6 separate regions of the Homo sapiens genome follow, and regions 2, 3, 4, 5 and 6 are each linked to region 1. The links are contacts of gene promoters, found by promoter capture Hi-C in blood cells and fetal thymus (Javierre and others, 2016). All regions are on one chromosome and are shown on one strand. Each heading gives the region's core, a stretch centred on a gene start or on the middle of the fragment in contact. The rest is flanking DNA. Distances are from core to core; before and after follow the strand shown.

What was found. The method cuts DNA at HindIII sites, captures the fragments that hold promoters and counts their contacts. A CHiCAGO score of 5 or more calls a contact.
Region 2: a contact is called between a fragment that was not itself captured here and the fragment with the promoter of SDSL in region 1, in 1 of 17 cell types (megakaryocytes). The highest score is 5.3, in megakaryocytes.
Region 3: a fragment that was not itself captured here is called in contact with the fragment with the promoter of SDSL in region 1 in 1 of 17 cell types (erythroblasts); the score reaches 5.2 in erythroblasts.
Region 4: a contact is called between the fragment with the promoter of RASAL1 here and the fragment with the promoter of SDSL in region 1, in 11 of 17 cell types (megakaryocytes, neutrophils, total B cells and 8 more). The highest score is 10.1, in megakaryocytes.
Region 5: a fragment that was not itself captured here is called in contact with the fragment with the promoter of SDSL in region 1 in 6 of 17 cell types (erythroblasts, megakaryocytes, M0 macrophages and 3 more); the score reaches 16.6 in erythroblasts.
Region 6: the fragment with the promoter of OAS2 here is called in contact with the fragment with the promoter of SDSL in region 1 in 2 of 17 cell types (total B cells and fetal thymus); the score reaches 6.0 in total B cells.

What each region holds. Positions count from the first base shown.
Region 1 is chr12:113,420,236-113,423,673 of GRCh38, reverse strand. It overlaps SDSL (serine dehydratase like), which reads right to left and starts at 1,294. Exons shown (of 8, transcript NM_001304993.2): 1 at 1,197-1,294. The HindIII fragment of the contact is 13,599 bases long and covers 1-1,502 here.
Region 2 is chr12:113,827,587-113,830,745 of GRCh38, reverse strand. All of the region lies in intron 23 of RBM19 (RNA binding motif protein 19), which reads left to right. Among named protein-coding and RNA genes, the nearest start is that of LINC01234, 55 kb to the right of the region's middle. The HindIII fragment of the contact is 6,564 bases long and covers 1-3,159 here.
Region 3 is chr12:113,872,140-113,875,653 of GRCh38, reverse strand. The region is part of intron 21 of RBM19 (RNA binding motif protein 19); the gene reads left to right. Among named protein-coding and RNA genes, the nearest start is that of RBM19, 92 kb to the left of the region's middle. The HindIII fragment of the contact is 5,903 bases long and covers 1-3,514 here.
Region 4 is chr12:113,134,126-113,137,469 of GRCh38, reverse strand. It overlaps RASAL1 (RAS protein activator like 1), which reads left to right and starts at 1,709. Exons shown (of 21, transcript NM_001301202.2): 1 at 1,709-2,072. The coding sequence starts at 2,008. RefSeq lists a silencer at 1,583-1,722. The HindIII fragment of the contact is 4,772 bases long and covers 1-3,344 here.
Region 5 is chr12:113,912,439-113,916,049 of GRCh38, reverse strand. It overlaps RBM19 (RNA binding motif protein 19), which reads left to right. Exons shown (of 24, transcript NM_016196.4): 21 at 965-1,081. Among named protein-coding and RNA genes, the nearest start is that of RBM19, 52 kb to the left of the region's middle. The HindIII fragment of the contact is 6,170 bases long and covers 1-3,611 here.
Region 6 is chr12:112,977,019-112,980,236 of GRCh38, reverse strand. It overlaps OAS2 (2'-5'-oligoadenylate synthetase 2), which reads right to left and starts at 1,718. Exons shown (of 10, transcript NM_002535.3): 1 at 1,452-1,718. The coding sequence starts at 1,628. RefSeq lists enhancers at 554-703, 814-893, 1,064-1,143, 1,364-2,173. The HindIII fragment of the contact is 12,087 bases long and covers 1-3,218 here.

The sequences.
Region 1 (3,438 bases), core at 45-2,544:
AAGTCCCGGGCTCAAGCAATCCTCCCACCTCAGCTTCCTGAGTAGCTGGAACTGTAGACATGCACCACTGTATCCGGCTGATATTTTAATTTTTATAGAGATGCAGTTTTGCTGAGTTGTCCAGGCTGGTCTTGAACTCCTGGCCTCAGGTAAATCTCTTGTCTCTGCCTCTCAAAACACTAGGATAACAGGTGTGAGCCACCTGTTGGCTCACAACAGATGAGTCATTAACTCACCATTGACTCCATTTTATAAACAGTGAACCTGAGGTCCAGAGAGATTAAGTAACTTATCCAAGTTCACACAGTTAGAAACAGCATAGCCAGAATTCACACCAGGCAGTGTCTTTGGCATCTGTGCTATTAACCGCGATGCTATACTTTCTCTAATATACTAGTGTTATCGTTACTATTATGAAAGCTGCATGCATTTAATATTTATTGCCAATTGTCCTTTGGAACCAAATGCTCCTGGCTCAGTTTCCAGGCTTCCCCAGCCCTCTTGGTTATACTGACTCACAAGAGGACAGCAGGCATCAGTTAAATGAAAAAGCCCCAAGTTGCCAACAGCCTTATCAACCCCAGACCCCATCAGGCACCTGAGGTCTGGGACTGAGCTGTCTTGGCCCAGGGACACACACCTCTTGTCCCGTATGGCAGCCACCAGGGCTGAAATGGGGGACCTGGGTCTCCCTGCTGTGGAATAACCCAGGGGAAAGCAGGGGGCTCAGGCTCAGGTCCCAGTCATGCCAACCTTGGCCAAGTCACTTTTGTCACTGGGCCTTACCTGTCACATCTATGAGTTGAGGTAAGGACCACCAGTGCTGTCCACCTCACTTGTCCCCAAAGCCTTTCCCCAGAGGCCACCTTGGTGGCACTCCACAGCCAAATCCCTGGTGCCAGGGCTGGGACACCTCGGGCTGGCCCCTTGGCTGGCAGAATGCCCAACCCTGCCCCTCTGGCAGGCAGAACCCACTCTCGCCCTTCAGGGTCCCCAGCACAACACTTTCTTCTGCAGGGCACCCTGAATTCAATCGACATTCCCAGGAGGGCCTAGAACACGCTCAGGCCCTCTCACTCCCACCTGCTCAGCTTGGACTTTGCCCAAAGCCTCCCAAACTCCTGCAGCCTCTCATCAGCCTCTCATTCACACACACACTGAGCCCCAGGGGCCCCAGCTGGCCCCAGACCCCTTACCTCCCTGCCCAACTATCCCAGACCAGCGTGGCCCCAGCTCCTGCCCTCCAGCCTGCCAGGGAACCAGCTCTTTCCAGGAACCGGCTCTGTCCAGCTTCAGGCAGCTTCCGGCAACCTTGGTCCCTCCTCCTTTGTTAAAGAGAAAGCTCCAGACCCTAAGCCTCCGGGTGAAGACGGAGGAGGAGAGGGGATGAGAGCAACCCTCACCGCTTTCCCGGGCACTGCCTATGACTCATGCACCACCCTGTCTCATTTGACAGATGAGCAAACTGAAACTCAGAAAAGGGAACTTATTTGGCCAAAGCTTCCCAGACAGCAAGGGGCAGAGACAGCCTTTACCCCTGGCCCTGGGCCATCTCTTCCGGGATGCAGGCATCTCCATGTCTTCTCATTTTAGGTCTAGTGATTGTCCCGGATGCTGAACCACTGTTGGGGTCAGCTTAGGTCTGGGATGGGAAAACAAGGACAAGGGAACTTTTTTTTTTTGAGACACAGTTTCATTCTTGTCCCCCAGGCTGGAGTGCAATGGTGCGATCTCGGCTCACTGTTACCTCCGCCTCCTGGATTCAAGCGATTCTCCCACTTCAGCCTCCCAAGTAGCCAGGTTTACAGGCACCCACCACCACGCCAGCTAATTTTTGTATTTTTAGTAGGGACAGGGTTTGACCATGTTGGCCAGGCCAGTCTCGAACTCCTGTCCTCAGGTGATCTGCTTGCCTCTGCCTCCCAAAGTGCTGGGATTACAGGCGTGAGCCACTGCACCTGGCCAAGGAAACAATTATTATAATTATTATTTGTGACATGGGAAAGGTATATTTTTGTCTGAAGCACCTCTCCGTCTCGGATATTTTACACGCAGCATGAGAACCCAAGCAATTATTTGCTACTCAGATGAATGACTGACCATTCATTCATTCATTAAATGTTTATTGGACACCTACTATGTGCCAATCCCTGGAACTTTGGCCTCAAACAAAATAGCATGTCCTCTGCCTTCACAAAGCCCTTAGAGAGGGCCATTAGAGAGCACTTATTAGTGCTATCAGATGTTAGCAGCTGGCAGGGTGGGGCAGGGCTGTGGAACCCAGAGCAGGCACCCCGCCTGGCCCTGGGGGGCTGGGGAGGCTTCCTGGAGGAGGGGAAGTCTGAGTGGAGCCAGGAGTCAGGCACAGGGAGTGCAAAGGTCTGGAAATGAAAAACATGATATATTCCAGGGTCAGGGTAGTATCCAGTGGGGCTGGGAGGGAGAAGGCAGGGGTGGGGAAGCAAGTGGGGTTGAGGCTGGAGATGTGGGCAGAGATCAGAGTCCACAGGGATGCCTGTACCAATCCAGAGTTTGGACCTTACCCAGGGGCACTAGGGAGCCACAGAAGGCTTTAGGTGGGGGGAATGACATGGTCAAATTCATGTCTTGTCTCTGCACCATCTCACTGGGTGAACCTGAGCAGCTCGTGCCCATCTCTGGGCCTCAGTTTCCCTATGTGGAAAGTGGGAACAGGAAGACCTGGCATCACAGATGTTGTGTGTCCTTCTTGGGCTGTTTCTGATCTCCCCAGGTTTGATGATTAACTCCCAGCCACTTGGGGTTAGATGGAGCTGCTTGGCCGTGATCCTTAATGTGGACTCTGGCAAGTTTCTACCCATCCTCGCTTTAGACACACATCCATCCTTGTTGGGTGCCTTGTCCTGGACTGGGTACTGGGGACACAGAGGTGATAAAATCCAGTTTGTGCCTTGAAGTGGCCCCCAGCATGGAGGGGAGAGGAAGACACCCAATTCGGTAGCAACAATAACACTTCCTAAGATGACAGAGGGCAGAAAGTCCCCATAGGGTAGCTGGGGATGGGGCAAGATCAGGGAGGGCTTCTTGAAGTAGGCAGAGACTCAGCACACAGCTCAGACTTTGACAAGAAGCAGACTAGCTGCATTTAGTGCATGTCTACTGTACACCAACACGTGCATGCTGTCCAGCGTAACCCACACTGTTTATTTGTTTGTTTGTTTGTTTGTTTGTTTGTTTTACAAACGAGGTCTCACTGTGCTGCCCAGGCTGATCTTGAACTCCTGACCTCAAGCAATCCTCCTACCTTAGCCTCCCAAAATGCTCGGATTACAGGCAACAGCCACTGCGCCCAGCCCCCAAAGGTTTTTTAATAGTTGGCAATCTATTTCTGTGTGCATTAGGAAAGATGTGTGTATGTATGTAGGTATATATATATGTGTATACATATGTATGTGTATG
Region 2 (3,159 bases), core at 67-2,566, 410 kb before region 1:
CCTTCCCACCTTTCCTGGTTCTTTTTCCCTTTTCCCTCTGCAGTGAGTCACCCTCACCGGGACACTCCCCTTGCTTCCCAGCCGCACAGGTCTGCCAGTATCTGTAACTAATACAAACATGTGGGACCAAGTCTAGAAGCCCCCAGGCATAGCCCACCCCCCCCCCCCCCGCCCCGCAGCCCTAGCTCAGGGTAACTCCATGGGTATCAGGGCTGCAGCACCTTCACCAGCCCCTGTGTATGGGGTTGTGCGTGGCCAGTCATAGAATTCTGCACACACACAAGACACCCAGAGCACAGAGGGAAGTTACTCCACCCACCGACCCACTCTCCAGCCACTCAGGGAGCCCAGGTCCTCAGCACCAAGATTAATAACATCAGTCATCATAGCAGTCATCATATCCCGTGCTCACCCCAGGCCATTTGCATCAGAACCTCTGGAGGTAGGATCCAGGCATCAGTGGGTTCCTAGCTGATGCTACCAGACAGCTGGATTGAGAACCAATGGCCTTTGAAAAGGAAATTGCTGCTACATAGCCTGGGTCTGTTCATGCTTTTCCTGTTGAGACCCCCATCCTAGGGAGGCTGGGCTAGTGTCCCCCTCTGCGGGGCAGGCTTTGCTATGCTGTGCCAGTAAGGCTGGAGCCAACCCTATCTGAGCTCAAGGTCCTGCTTGGAAAGTGTGACCACTTGACTCTTCAGAGTCCTAGTGCGGCTGCTTCCTCATCTGAAAAGTGGGACAATGATGTTGCCTAGCTGGTGGAATTTCTGTAGGAAAGTCCAGAGCCAGCCTGCTGCTTAGAGCCAGCAGGCGCCTGAGGAGTGGTCCCTGCAGCTCGCCCCTTGGCCTTATCTTGGGCAGCTGGATTTCCCCTTTGCTGGGCACTGCCTGTCCTCTGGGGTGGCCTCACAGGACCCTTTGATTGTTAGCTTTCATGTTTGCCTGGCACCTCAACGGGCCGGGCCCTGGGCTAAGTGCTCTCATGCTTTATCTCATCAAATCCCCTGTGGTGGGTGCTACTACTGTGTCCTGTCTGCAGAAGAGTAACTTTGGTAACTCAGAGAAGGCTGGGACCACCAAGTGGCAGCACTCAGGTCCCACCTCGTCCTGTCCACCCTGAGCCCCAGTGTGGCCCCCATGGCTGGTGGTTTAGTTTATCCTGTGGAGTTTTGTTCACTGCCATATCCCCAGCATCATTCCTGGCACATAGAATATGCTGGGTCATGCTTGCTAAGAGTGACTGAAGGCAGGAATCCTTACGGTCCCCATGAGATAAGCAGAGCAGGCACCGTCCCCGTTTAACAGGTGGGAACACTGAGGTAAGGAGCTTAGCAGCTCCTGGGAGTCCCACAGTGGCAGAGGCCAGTCTGCGGCCCAGGCTCCTGCCCACCCGCTCTGCACAAGGACCCTCTCAGATCATACCTAGTTCTTAGAAGGACTCGCTGTGTTTTAAAAAGGCACAACTGGCTGGACGTAGTGGCTCATGCCTATAATCCCAGCACGTTAGGAGGCCAAGGCGGGTGGATCACTTGAGCTCATGTCCAACATGGTGAAATCTCATTTCTACTAAAAATACAAAAATTAGTTGGGCCTGGTGGTGTACGCCTGTAATCCCAGCTACTTGGGAGGCTGAGGCACAAGAATCACTCAAACCCGGAAAGCAGAGGTTGCAGTGAGCCGAGATCGCTCCACTGCACTCACCTGGGTGACAGTGTGATTCTGTCTATTTAAAAAAAAAAAAAGGCACAGCCCTAAAACAGCCTCCTGTATCAATAAAGGGACATTGGCTTGGTCTTAGGAGCCAGGCCAGTCTCCTGAAGAGTACCCTTTATTCTGTGCGTACCTGATGTGTGCCTGCTGTACACAGAGCCCTGAGATGCAGACCTATCTGGGTAGGAGAGCTCTGCCCGTGGGGGCTGCAAGATATGAAGCCAGGGAGGACAGGGAGAGACCCATGCAGAGGCACCAGCAGCTGAGGGTGGGGGTCTGGTTCAGCCAGCCTTCCAGAGCAGGCAGCCTCCCAAGCCAGGCCAGCCCCCGGGTGCCCAGCCCCCCTGCGGTACCCACATCATGGCACCCTCATACTCCCCAAGGGTGGGAGCTACAGGTGGCTGGTGTCCCCCAGCAGCCTAGGACTGCACACCACTGAGTCTGAAGATTGTGGAGCCTCATTCTGGCCTCCACACTCTGCCCCAACCTCCTTCCTCCCCTCGCCCACCTGTGCCCCCGCCCCCTGCCCTTCACCCCGGCCTCTTGGAATCAGTTCTGTCTCCGACTTAGCGGAGTTTGTGGAAGCCTTGCCTATCCTGTGTCTCGGGAAGTAGCAACTCAGGAGCCTCCAGGAACAGGAAGAAAAGCCCCCATAAGTGAGGCTGCGTGTCTCCAGGGGCAGCTAGTGCACAGCCTCATCAGTTACCTGTAGGCAGGGAGGGGACAGGTCTGCCACACTCACAGGTTAGCCATTCCAGGTTCAAGAGAAACGAGAGGTGCAGATTCTTATGTAGCATCTCCCTGTTTTTGAACATTAGTCACTGATTTCTGTATTCATGGCAAATCATGTCAGCAAATCCAGACACTCTTCTGTGGGCCCACAGTGGGAGGCCCTGCTCCATCCCATTGGTCACTTTTTTTTTTTTTTTTTTTTTTGAGACAGAGTCGAGAGCTGCTGTTGCTATCATCGTGTTATAGAGGAGGGGAGCAGCCCACCCTCGTGCTCTCAGTAACAGATTCCATCAACAGCAGTAAGAATGACCAACCTATATTGACAGCTTGCCGTGTGCTAGGCACTATTGTGAGGGCCTTACATACATATATTCATTCTTTTAATACCCTCACACACCCTAGGCGTGTAGATTTCATCACCATTCAGTAACTGCAGAAACTGAGAGGAGCCCAGAGAGGTGAAGCAACTTACCCAAGGTTGCCCAGCCAGGAGCAGCAGGGTTTGATCCTGGCAGCTCACCCACCCAGCACCCTGCATCTAGCACCCTCCACCCTGTACCTCAGGCCTCTCCACTCAGAATCCAGCCCTGGGCTTCCTGGCCCAGTGCTTTTCCCCTCCCCGGACTGTTCACGCCTGCCTCATCCCAGGGTTCCTTTCAGAACTCCCTTCTCCCCTTATCAGCCACGCTCTTCTCCCCCGGCTTGCCTTTCCTCAAC
Region 3 (3,514 bases), core at 217-2,716, 450 kb before region 1:
ACACCCCAAATCCTATCTGGTCCTAACTGGGTTTCTTATTAAGAAAAGAGACTCCCACCTACATACACCAAGATGTCCAAGGGCTGTCCCGACTTGGGCTGTCACATTTGCGTGCTCTGACTCACATGTTCTGCCTTTTCCTATCACCACCAGGAACCAGCCTTCCAGAGTCCATTCCTCTCGGTCCTGGACTCCAGGCCACGCACAGACCCGATTAGACCTCTTGGGCTCTCAGCTTCTGACTCACCATCCAATTCTAAACTTTTGTAATTGAATCGAGTTCTTTGTTGGTTTATTTGGCCTCAAACAAATGGTCCAACTCGCAGATTCATTTCAACCCTTCCCTGCATCTTAAAACTCACCAGTCATCCTGAGCTCGGCTTGTTTTATTGTTGTTTTCTTTCCCAGACTTTTAAAAATAATATTTGTCCCAGCAGGGTGATTCGTTCTCCTCCCCATGAGCACTGGCAGGCTCTGCGGCATGAATCACTCGCTCCCGTGCTCCCTGTCCCCTGACATGTCCCTGGGAGGCCTCCAACGCTTTCTGTCGAACGGTCCGCACCGTGGCTTCGCCGCTTGCATCTTCTGCAGAGGTGTCTTGGCTGTCATCTCCTGGTTGACAGTAGGCCTGGCTTTCTTGAGAAGCTCAGATGTTGAAGCTACTCAATTACCTGAAGTACACCCCAATCTGTACCCCACTGGTCTGGAAAAGTGGTCCCCTCATGGCTGTGACCTCTTGGTCTGGGACTTCCCAGGGAGACTCAGTGACCATGCCCGCTCCCTCTTTTCAGCCGTTGTGTAGGGCCATTTGGATGCTTTGGCCTTTTGCCAAGAGGATGGGGAGCATCTGAACTGGGCTTTCCAACATCATGGGGGTTCTGGAGTGTTCCTCCTCATGGCAGGTGTCAGAAACCTCTAGAATGCTAGCTCTTCAGAAGCCGCCTTCCCTATCCATCATCATCTCCTCAGCCTCTTTTTCCACTTCTGCCATCATTTCCCAGTGGCTGGCGGGCTCCAGCTAGAACATAAGGACTGAGTTCAAGGGCTGAAGCTGGTTACTGTCCCCAGGGTGGGGCACAGTGTGCCAAAGCAAAATCCACAGTCAGACAGACCCACACGCAAGTCCTGTGACCTCAGATAAGACCTCCCCTCGAGGTCTCACATGCGTCCTGGGAGGCCTGCCGCCCAGTGGGTCTGCTCTGGGCCTAAAGGGAGGCAGCGCGTGTAGAGCATTTGGCATGGCCAGGGCAGGTGCTCAGCAAGTGCCGCTTCCTCCCACTCCCCGTTTCTTATTTCAGGTATTGAGAGCCCGATCATGAGAGGGGCCAGAAATCAGAAAATCCAGGAAAAGACAAGCATCCATTAATAACTCCATTCATCAGCACTCCACAGACACTTTTTAGTGGGCACCTACTGTGTGCCAGGTGCTGTTGGAACTGTTCTGGGTGCCGGCCATTCAGTAGTTAGCAAGGAAGACCAACCATAAACAAATAGAGGGGAAAAAATGTGCAATAGAATGCAAAGTCCCATAACATCGAGGTGACAAATGAAGCAGGGTGACAGCAAATGCTAGTCGTGTGCAGACAAGCAGCCTGGGTCGGAGCACCTTTGAGGTGGCACCCTCCACCTTGCTGCTGTTCTCTGTTTCCATTTAGCAGGGCGGTGACTGGGTTTCTAGGTTCATCTGTTTGTCTCTGTGCTAAGCAGGTCTCCAGGGTGATGGCGAGATATCTGGCTCTTGGCCCTCTGGGGCACAGCACTCCCCACTTGGTCCAGACACGTGTAACTCAGCTCATCACCCGCACCATGCGTCTCATTTCTCCCATCACTGAACAATGAGGGGTTTCCCCAGTAAGTGACTTTGCCACCTTATACCTTTAAGTATCAGCCCTCTGAAAATGTTGACCATTCAGTGGAAATCTTCCTAAAATACACAGTGCCTTTTCTTTTTTTTTTTTTTTTTTAATTTATTTTTTTATTGATAATTCTTGGGTGTTTCTCACAGAGGGGGATTTGGCAGGGTCATGGGACAATAGTGGAGGGAAGGTCAGCAGATAAACAAGTGAACAAAGGTCTCTGGTTTTCCTAGGCAGAGGACCCTGCGGCCTTCCGCAGTGTTTGTGTCCCTGATTACTTGAGATTAGGGATTGGTGATGACTCTTAACGAGCATGCTGCCTTCAAGCATCTGTTTAACAAAGCACATCTTGCACCGCCCTTAATCCATTTAACCCTGAGTGGACACAGCACATGTTTCAGAGAGCACAGGGTTGGGGGTAAGGTCACAGATCAACAGGATCCCAAGGCAGAGGAATTTTTCTTAGTGCAGAACAAAATGAAAAGTCTCCCATGTCTACTTCTTTCTACACAGACACGGCAACCATCCGATTTCTCAATCTTTTCCCCACCTTTCCCGCCTTTCTATTCCACAAAGCCGCCATTGTCATCCTGGCCCGTTCTCAATGAGCTGTTGGGTACACCTCCCAGACGGGGTGGTGGCCGGGCAGAGGGGCTCCTCACTTCCCAGTAGGGGCGGCCGGGCAGAGGCGCCCCTCACCTCCCGGACGGGGCGGCTGGCCGGGCGGGGGGCTGACCCCCCAACCTCCCTCCCGGACGGGGCGGCTGGCCGGGCAGAGGGGCTCCTCACTTCCCAGTAGGGGCGGCCGGGCAGAGGCGCCCCTCACCTCCCGGACGGGGCGGCTGGCCGGGCGGGGGGGCTGACCCCCCCCACCTCCCTCCCGGACGGGGCGGCTGGCCGGGCGGGGGGCTGACCCCCCCACCTCCCTCCCGGACGGGGCGGCTGGCCGGGCAGAGGGGCTCCTCACTTCCCAGTAGGGGCGGCCGGGCAGAGGCGCCCCTCACCTCCCGGACGGGGCGGCTGGCCGGGCGGGGGGGCTGACCCCCCCCCACCTCCCTCCCGGACGGGGCGGCTGGCCGGGCGGGGGGCTGACCCCCCACCTCCCTCCCGGACGGGGCGGCTGGCCGGGCAGAGGGGCTCCTCACTTCCCAGTAGGGGCGGCCGGGCAGAGGCGCCCTTCACCTCCCGGACGGGGCGGCTGGCCGGGCAGGGGGGCTGACCCCCCCCCACCTCCCTCCCGGACGGGGCGGCTGGCCGGGCGGGGGGCCGACACCCCCACCTCCCTCCCGGATGGGGCGGCTGGCCGGGCAGAGGGGCTCCCCACCTCCCAGTAGGGGCGGCCGAGCAGAGGCGCCCCTCACCTCCCAGACGGGGCGGCTGGCCGGGCGGAGGGCTGACCCCCCCACCTCCCTCCCGGACGGGGTGGCTGCCGGGCAGAGAGGCTCCTCACTTCTCAGACGGGGCGGCTGCCGGGCGGAGGGGCTCCTCACTTCTCAGACGGGGTGGTTGCCAGGCAGAGGGTCTCCTCACTTCTCAGACGGGGCGGCCAGGCAGAGACGCTCCTCACCTCCCAGACAGGGTCTCGGCCGGGCAGAGGCGCTCCTCACATCCCAGATGGGGCGGCAGGGCAGAGGCGCTCCCCACATCTCAGACGATGG
Region 4 (3,344 bases), core at 460-2,959, 290 kb after region 1:
CTTGAACCCAGGAGTGGAAGTTGCAGTGAGCCAAGATCGAGCCCTGCCCTCCAGCTGGGCAAAAAAAAAAAAAAAAATCACAGTGGGATGACTCCTTTGGGGCTATTACTGTTCTGGATCTAACCCTGGATTACCCCTCATGCCCCGCTGAGGATGTTGCAATACTTCTAAGCCTTGGAGCCTGTTCTGCTAGGTCCATTTCCCAGATGGGATTAACTGAGACCCCATCTCTGGTGGGTCAGAGACTCACCAGGCAGCCACCAGCTGGGGAAGGAATTCCAGGGCTCTGAGTTCCTCATCAGCCTGTCTGGGTTGCTGGGTGGGGAGTCAAGAAGGGAGACTGGGAAGCAGACCATTGGGCTGCTGACGGATCCAGGAAGGGCACTCCTGGTCTCACCGGTCTGGGCGTTGGCTCCCGCACTCAGTCTGCAGGGGCACTCCCATTGGTGCCTGGCCTTTCTAAGAGGTCTTGGGCAGGTCAACAATGAATTCACAGGGAGAAATAAGTGTGCGAACGGATCTGTTCTGGGACAGGCCCTGCCTGTCATATTATCTCATTTAAAATCAGAAAAATGTACAAACCTGGAGCCACTGGAGCAGAGAGAAAGGAAAGAAAATCTCTACCGGAGTGGAAGGGCATCCTGGAAGCCTTCCCAGGAGAGGTGACGCGTGGCCCACGCCTCAAAGGACAACAATCAGAATATCAAACACTTTCTGGACGTGTATTAGGTACTTGTCACTGTCCTGAGACTTTTATCTTCATTAACTCTTTTAATTCTTTCAAAATCCTGTGACTGAAATGCAATGTCATCCTCACTCAACAGATGAGAAAACCAAACCAAAGCACAGAGAGGTTGAATGGCTTACCCAAGTCCAGACAGCTACCAAATGGCAGAGCCAGGATTCGAACCCCTGGAAGGCAAATCAGTTACTGACTGTGAGACCTCTGCCAAGTTATTTAATCCCTCTGAACCTCAGTTTCTTTATCCATAAACTGCGGATAATGGGGTAACAGTGGAGTAGTGTGTAGTGCACATCTGGAGACAAAAATGAGCTAATCCCAGTAAAGCGCTTAGAACAGTGCCTGGCACCCATGAAGTGTTCAAACAACTGTAGATGACTTTTTATCATCGCTGTAGTGGTTATCTTCAAGCCTTCCCCTCCCCCATCTGGCCGCGGCTTCCTCCCCCGCAGTGCCAGCCCGTGACGTTAGAGCAGAGTCTGGGTTCTGTGTTTAACTGGAAACTAGAACGAGATGGAAGGGGATGTTCAAGGCCCCTCCCTTGACTCTGAACGGACCCCCAGGGAACATGCGACCCTCTCTCTGGCGACGCCTCCCACCCACCACTAATACTTGCTCCTGGACCGGGGGGCGCGGAGGTTGGAGAGAGGAGGCAGGTGTCTGCATGGTAGGCAAGGAGGGGTGGGGGCGGAGAGGTGTGAATATGTTGGATGAGGGACAGGCGGGGGCACAGACCATGTCTTTTAAGCCCAATGCCAACTCACCAGGAGCCAGCGGCCACGCCCATCAGGACGGGGGCCCCTCCCCACCTGGCGGTGCACCCTTGTCTCCGCCGCCCGTGCGCTCTGGCGCGCATGACTGGGGTGCCGGTAGAGGGCGCGCGAGGGGGCCCGGGGTCAGGTGGGGGACCCCATTGGAGGCGGGATTGTGGGGAGGTCCCTGGGCCGCCCCTCCCGCCCCCTGCCCGCCCAGCCTGCTTGTCTGGAGCTCCAGACGCCTCGGCAAGAGCCCGCTGCGCCCCCTGCGCGCTCCTCCTGCTCGGAGCACGGCTCCTACCTGTAGAGTCCGGACGGGCGCTCCCTCCCCGGGCACCTACACCTTCTCCTCTTTCGGAAATCTCCCATCCAGCTACCCGGGTCTCGGACAGGCGGCACTGGGACCACGAGGCAGGGAGCCAGGCTTGAAGCAGGTGACATGTAGACGTCCCCTGGTCCAGCCTCGGAACCTGAGCGCCCTTCTGCCTGGAAAGTTTGTGGCTAGGCGCCATGGCCAAGAGCAGCTCCCTGAATGTTCGCGTGGTGGAGGGCCGCGCGCTGCCTGCCAAGGACGTGTGAGTACTCCTCGGGCGCTTCTGGGTGAGGGGCGCGCAAGGCCTGGGGTGGGGCCGACGTCGCCCTTTCCGCGTGCCAGGGCGGGTTGGCAGGAGGGCGAGGGGTTCTTGTCCAAGACTGGTCTTGGGGCAGTTCCGCTTTAAAGGGGCGAGAGGCCGCATGCCCATGGCTGTCCCGGTGGGAGGGGGGCGCCTAGAGTTAGCAGATGCCCCGCCTCACCCCCGGGCAGGGGAGGGGGTGTCTTTGTTCCCGGGATGTACTAAAGGGGGTCGTCCAGAGCTGAAGAGGGGATTAGAGGGCCATATTCTGTCAGATCTGGGAGGGGAGAAAGCGGGGGGTCTCTTCCTTAGTCCAGGCAGATGTTGGAGGTGGCTCCTCCAGGCGTGGGTGGGGGCCTAGCAAGGGAACCCTGGGGAGGACCCTTGGAGAGGGCCTGGGATCAGATGAGCCCTAACATCCTGTGTGGATCTGGTGCTTAGGTTTGCAGAGTGTCACCAGGTGGCCCTCCAGGGTCCTTTTGACCCCAAGCCCTGAGCTCCCCAGTCTTGTGGCTCCCAGCCTCGTGTGGGCCTTCCCCGGGTGCTGAGCTGCTTGAAGAGCCAATTCCTTGCTGCGACCCCCTCCCCAGCCAGGTGCAATGGGACTGGGGGACCCTACGGCTCCCTTCACTACTAGTCCCAAGCTATGCTTCCCCCAGGGCTGAGTCAGCAGCTGCTGAATCAGCAGAATATGGGGGGCGGGTTCCCCCTCCTGCTTGGCATAGTGCCCAGAAGGGGCTCTGAGGGCCTTAGCACCTGCGACAGGTGTGGGATCCTCTGGAGGACATTTGTTGTGTGACCTTGAACCTGCTTCTCTCTGGGCCTTGGTTTCCCATTTGGGCAATGAGAGCTCTGGACCGGAGTCCCCATCTGGTTGCCTGGGGTCTCCCATCCAGCTGGGAGGGTGGAGGACCTGTTAGGAGTTCCCCTGTGGCCCAGGTGAGCAGGAGCATGGATTGGGAGCCTTCACCTGTGTCAAGATTCAGTCTTAGCTCTGTGCTGATTCCCCAAGGTGTGGGCTCCCAGAGAGGACTTTCCTGCCTGATTTTATGACATTCCCAACCCCCAAAACACTGCAGCTGCGTCAAGGGGGCAGCTGTTGAGAGCAATTTTTGCCACCCTTCATCCTCATTGGCTACTCCAAATATACACACCCTGAATGAGAAGCAGAGTGTGTGCTCTGACAGTTCAGTGGCTGGACAAGCCCCCCCACCAGACTCTTTCTAAGATGTC
Region 5 (3,611 bases), core at 824-3,323, 490 kb before region 1:
ATGACAAGACAAAAAAAAGAAAAGAAACATGATTAAATGTATAATGTACTAGCACAGGGATCAGTGCCAGGAAGAGAAATGAAGCTGGGGGCTGTGGGTGAGGGGGCTGCCATTTTAATGGAGACAGGGAAGGCCTGTGAGGAGGTGACGTGGAGCAGGCCTGAAGGAGGTAAGTCCTAACATGGTCATTATCATAACAGCTGCTGTTTATTGAATGTTTACCACATTCTGGGTCCAGTGCTGAGTCTGCTTATTAAATCTTCAAACAATCAAATTAGGTGGGCCTATCATTACACCCATTCTACAGTGGAAGAAATGGAGGCCCAGAGCGGCCATGTTACTTGCCCAAGATCGCAGAGATCCTAAGTGTCGGATTTGGCATTCACACCCAGCTTGTTAACTCCCAGCCTTGCTCACTTCCCTACCCTGTTTTGGTGGAGTGGGAGGTTTCCCTGGGAGAGCAGGGAGACAGGCCAGGTAGCACTGCATTGGGGATGGCCTTGAACCTGGGCTGAGAGTGTCCTTGCTCGCCACCTGGTCCATCTGCATGGTTAGGCCCCCGCATGTTCCTCCTCGGGTTATTGATGAAGTGTCACAAGACCTTTGGAAACCAACTGGGGTCTTTCTTTGCAACTGGAGAGAAAGACACAATGGAGATTGGGTTTGGTGAGAAACCAGCCCCACCCTTAGCGGGGCTCCTTAAGTCCCTGGTGGCCCCGGAGTCTCTCAAATGAAGGTCAGCAGCCACCCAAGCACGGATGTGTCCCCCTGACGTCTGCAGCTGTTTTGGGTCCTATCACCTGGTGGGAGACGGCCTTCCTCTCCTTTCACGTTGGTCCCGCACCCCACGCACACTCCTTGAATCCATCACCTGAATATTCTGATGGAGGCGTAGTGGAGTCAATGTTGGGCAGGAGCTGCTGAAGCTCCGAATAACTTGGACCCTCTCCCCCCACCACTCCAGGCCAGCCGTGACATTGGCTCGGAAGAAACAAGTTCCCAGAAAGCAGACCACCTCCAAGATCCTGGTGCGGAACATCCCCTTCCAGGCCCACAGCCGGGAGATCCGAGAGCTCTTCAGGTGAGAACTTCAGGTTTAGTCCAGGGGACTGGCGTGTGGGCGGGGAGCCTGCCCGAGTCTCAGGGAAGATGGCCTTTGGGTCCTGGATGGTTCCGTTGCAGGCCGGCACAGTGGTCTTTCAAAGGTCATCTTTTGGCTGCTTTTGATTTATCTCCCTTAATCTCAGATGTGGCTCCCCAGAGCACTGTGCAGGAAAAAAGTCAAAACAGCCAGGCTTCCCCCTCTCCGAGGCAGATGGAGAAAGGGCAGGCAGGCTTCCCTGTCCCCATCCACAACGTGCAAGAGGGGCAGGGGCCCCAGTGGCTAAAACCCAGCCCTACCCATGATCTGCTTGAAATTTCCTCCATCCAGGCTACCCCTTTGGTTTAAGGTGCTGGTTTTCCACCTTAGCCACACATTCCAGCCACCTGGCAATGGCTAAAATACACCTTTCCCGAGGCTGCACCCCCAGAGAGTTGGATTCCATTTTTCAACAGTGGGGTCTAGACATCGGTGTTTTGCTAAAAGCTCCCCAGGGGATCCTAATGTCCAGCCGGGGTTGGGGACCAGTGGCCTAAATGACTCTATGGAAATGAAGGCGAATTACCTGCACACATAAAGCAGTCCGTCAGCACCTGCTTGCACAGGGGTGGAAAATGCAGCTGTCGCAGGGACCCAGCCGGTAACGGCAGCAGGCTGGGTGGGGACTGAGCAGCAGGCGGGCCTCTCTCTGGTCATCCAGCTGGGATGCCATGCAGGAACTCAGGCTTCGTAAGACCAGTTCCCATGTTTTGAAAGAGAAACCAGCCATGTGGATTCTTAAGGAGAATTCATCAGCAACTAATTCACTTTTTAAAAACAAAACAAGTCTGGCCTGCCCCAGGGCCCCTAGTTGGTGATCCCTACGCTGCCATGTTACAGTGTTTGGCTTTTCAGATTAGGTAGGCACCACCCAGCACCAAGCCATGAATGAAAGAAACGTCCTCATATCAGGGCCTAAGGGGAATGCTTGAAGCCAAGGCCCCCCCACCCAAGGCATGGGCAGGGTAATAGAGAGACCATCTAGCTCTCAGAATGCAAAGGCAGATGAAGTCAGCTTCACCTAAACACATTGTTGAGGCTTCGGTGGGATCCAGGACTGCTCGGGGGACCTGCAGCACCATGGCCTGCGCGTGGGTGAACATTTAGGATTCTAGACACTAGGTCTCGTTCGTTCATTCTACACTTGCACAAGGGTCCAAGAGTGAAGCCTCTGTTAGAGTTGCCAGTTAGCATCTTGCAAGGTAATCTGTGGTTACAAAATCAGCCTTGTGTTTTGGAGATGAGAAACAATTATCTTTGTGTGGCATCTACCTTCTTTGCTCTCACTCTGTAGTTTGAAGAATAAGAAGTCATGTGGGGAACTTCAGATATCTTTGTCCTCCTTTTCCCCTCTGTTTGTTCTAAATCATACACTAGTATTCAGTTCATAAACAGATGTGGTGTGTGGTGAGCTGGGATCTGAGGCAGAGACCAATCCTGCCAGTATCTGGGAAGCAGGATCTTAGCTATGATCTCCGGGTATCCTGCACAGCAGGAATAGCCTGGCGAGATGGGGTCATGACCTGGGGGGAGGTTTCCCATTTCCCTAAACCTCGACTGATCAGTCGTCCCTCCAGGAAGGTACATATCCTTAGCCTCTCGGTATGTCTGCTTGTTTAAACATGCTCTGCTTTTTAAAAGGAGTCCAACTTAAGAACTGCCAGATTAAAACGGGCTTGCTAAGAAGAGCGCATGTTGATCGGGAAATAATATCCCGCTGAAATGACAGTTTCACTTGGTTCTGCAGTATATTTAGGATGACACTTATCCGGGGAAACAAAAGACCACAAGGGAAGAGAGAGCACTTTGTGTGATCTCATGTATTATATTTATTTTTAGAAGACAGGGAATTAGTGTCCACTGAACATAATTACATGTGGTGACTCTTCTCCTTGCCATTGTTCTGATGAGAGTTTTCTTAAAACCCTGGAAACGTAAGACCTTCTTGGAGGGCCGTACCTGCTATTGTTGTTCACTCCGGCTGGGGATGTAAGGCAGTTCCTCGTTGCAGACAGCAGGGGTCGCTGTGAGCCTTCTCAGGGACTTCAAGATTGTCCAGGGAAGCCCCAGACAGGATTTCAGACAAAGCCACTGGCCGGTAAAGGTCATTAGCCAGGGGGAGGTTTCAGGGTTTCGGGGAACCAAGCTGGTCCATTTGGGCAGGCAGGTTCTATGGGTTTCTCCTACCAGGTGTAGTAAAAATCACAACTCCCTTTTATTACACGCTTGCTGTGTGCGGGGCTCTGAGCTTGAATGCCTTCCCGTGCAGAATCACCTCTTTTAAGCCGCACAGCAGCCCTGCGAGGGATGGATGCTGTCATTCCTTTTGCACCCAGACAGAAACTGGAGATGGAAACTAGGGAGATGGAGTGTCCTGCCTGGGACCATGCCGCTGAATGGGGATTTGGATCTAAGTCAGCCTAACCCAGAGCCCCGGCTTGGAGCCACTCCTCTCTGCTGCCTGTTTTCT
Region 6 (3,218 bases), core at 469-2,968, 440 kb after region 1:
TGATCAATGTTTGAGGTGATGGATATCCTAACTACCCTGATCATTTCACATTGTATCCATGTGTCCAAATATCACATGTACCCCATATAAATATGCACAATTATGTAAAAATAAAAAAACACAGTAGAATGGACAAATGTGGAATATTCACATAATGGAATTGACACAACAATGAAAAGATAAACAACTGTACCCCACAACATAAATTTCATAAACATCATAGGTCAGAGAAACCACGCACTAAAGCACACAGAGCCCATGATGCCATTTATGTAGGGTTCACCCATGCATCCTGGTTTACATTCCCAGCTTTCACACCAAGAGTCCCACATCCCAGGAAACACCCCAATCTTGGATGAACTGGGATAGTTGGTCACCCTATAATTGTAAAACGTTTAAAAACAGGCAAAACGTGTCTATGCTGTTAGAAGTCAGGAGATTGCCTACCTGGGTTTGGAGGTGCTGACTGGATCGGGGGCCCAGGGCTCTGGGGGGCTGAGAATGTTTTGTTTCTGGATCTGGGTGGGGGTTACACAGTTACATTGTTTGTGGCTACCTATCAAGCTGGACACTTTGATCTGGGCACTTTTTCTGTTTTACTTCCATGAGGAAAAAAAAATTGAGAGGCAGGATAGTGTAGTGGTTAAACATGCATGCCCTCAAGCCAATTACCCAGGCTTAAAATCCCAGTTCTGACAATAGCTATTAACCAAACTTGCCTTAGCTTGCTGGCCTGGGCCAGGGCTGGGGACACCACGTGTCTAGATTTCTTTATTGAGGCACTAGCGGATGTGTGCAAGGGGTAGAGACCAAAAAGTGTGGCAGCAGCAGAGAAGGGACGTCAGCAGCTCAGGAGGCTAAGAGGATAGTATTGGGCCATCAGGACCCCCACGCCCCCAATTCTAGGGTCCTGGCATCTCCCCAGTCCCCCTTCCTCCCCAGAGGTCCAGAATTTTCAGCCTCAGTCCTGAGATTTGTGTCCACAAAACCAAATATTTCTAACTGATAAAAGCCACTCCTTCTTGCTGCGGAGAAACCACAAGGCAACCTGGGTAGTTTGAACAAAGTTCTCTAGCCTCCCTAAGTTTACTCCTCTGTACTGTGGAGAGGATAGAAGAAAATCGCAGTGAGTAATCACAGTGAATTCACTGAGCACTGCCAGTCTTTTGCTAAGAACATGATGTGCTCAAGCCTTACGATACTCTGAAGTGGGTATTATGCCTCTCCCCATTTTACAGAGTCAGAGACTGAGGCACAGAGAGGTTAAGTAGCCTGCCCAGTGTCACACAGCTCTGGAGCAAGCGCCTGCTCCAGAGCCTGAGACTCCTACACCACATCCCACCCAAGTGTGGGCCTCGCACATAATAGGCACCCAGCACCCAGTAGCTCGGCCTTGCTGCCGCCGTGGAATCTCCTGCCTCCCAGAGACCCAACCTCAGCCCTGGACTCACTATGGCCACTCCCTGCACCAGGGGGAACTGTTCGGGTTCCTGCAGGACGTCACAGATGGTGTTCACCATCTCGTCGATCAGTGTCTGACATTCTTCGTAGGGCTTCAGGTATTCCTGGATAAACCAACCCAGCTTCTGAGCAGGCACCGAGGACAGCTGGGACTCCCCATTTCCCATTGCTCTCAGCTGGCTGCCGGCAAGACAGTGAATGGTAGGATGGGAGGCAGAGGAATTCTTGCTGCTGCCCAGAGCCAGGAAACTGAAACTGAAGTCTAGAGGCCTCTCTCCACCCACTGCAGCGAGCTTACCAACTCTTGTATCCGGGACAGGGAAACAAAACTAACTTAAGCTCAGAGGCTCTGCCCTGCCCCTTGCAGTGAGTTTACCAACTCCTGCATCCGGGGCAGGGAAACCAAAACTAACTTAAGCTCAAATGCTCTTCCCCGCCCCTTGCAGCAAGGTTTACTGACTCCTGCACCCCAGCAGGGAAACCAAAACTGACTCAAGCTCAGAGGCTTTCCCTGTCCCCGGCAGCGTGGTGACCAGCCCTTCAGGGGCTCCCCAAAACTTGAGGTTAACTAAACAGCCTCTAGAACCCCATTGTGAGGGCTTCATACCTGCTAGATGTCTGTCCTTGAGCACATCGCCTGCCCTCTTCGCGCCTCAATTCCCCCATCTGTAAGCTGGGGGAAAATGGCAGCTCTCTCGTAGGATTAGCTTGATGATTAAATAATACCTGCAAAGTGCTTAGAAGCAGGGGCGCACAGGTCATCTTTTGAGGCTCTGTCCCTTTCCCCCTGTTCTCAGTGGCCAGGGAACTCACATTCAGGGAAAGCGGCAGAGAGGAAAAAGAGACCCAGAGAGGGAACTGACTTGCTCAGGGACACACAGCAAAGCAGGGACCTAGCTGGACTCAGGTTTTGGTCTGCTTCTGGGTAAACACAGGCCCCCGTGTGGTCAGCGGGTGGGAACCTCTGTGTGTCCAGTTTCTCAGCACACTTGTGGACAGCCGAGGGACCGTATGAGGCACTTGTCCAGCCTCGCAAGGGCAAGAAAACACACCCCAAGTGTGTGAGCCAGAAAGGAGACAGACATGCAACTCCTGTGCCCAGAGCTTTGAAAACAAAACTCGCAGAGGACTCCCAGCCAGCTGCCTTGGCCCAGCAATAATAATTCACAGAGAAGGCAAAAATCTCCAAGATGTAGTGGGGGACCAGGGCCCTTCCATACTGGGATGGTTAATTTTATGTGTCAAGTTGGCTGAGCCCAGGTACCCAGATATTTGGTCAAACATTATCCTAGATCTTTTTGTGAAGGTATTTTTTAAAGATAAGATTAACATTTACATTGGTAGACTTTTTTTTTGAGTAAAGTGGATTATCATCTGTAAGGTGGTGGGCCTGATTCAATCAGTTGAAGGCCTTAATAGACTAAAGACTGAGCTCCCCCAAGGAAGAGGGAATTCGGCTGCAGTGCCTTGGCCTCCACTTGCAGCAGCAACTCCTTCCTGGGTCTCCCACCTGCCAGTCTACCCTGCCGATTTTGGATTTGCCAGCCTCCACAATCACATGAGCCAATTCCTTAAAATAAATACCTCAAAATAAATATAAATACCCTGTTAGTTCTGGAAAAACCTCGATTAATGCACATGCTCATTAAGGGCCTTTCCTGCCCTTATCCAACTTTTACTGCAACACCGAGAGGTAGGCAGGCTGGGCAGGCGTAGTCCTAAGGTTCCTTTTTCAGATGAGAACATGGAGGCTCACA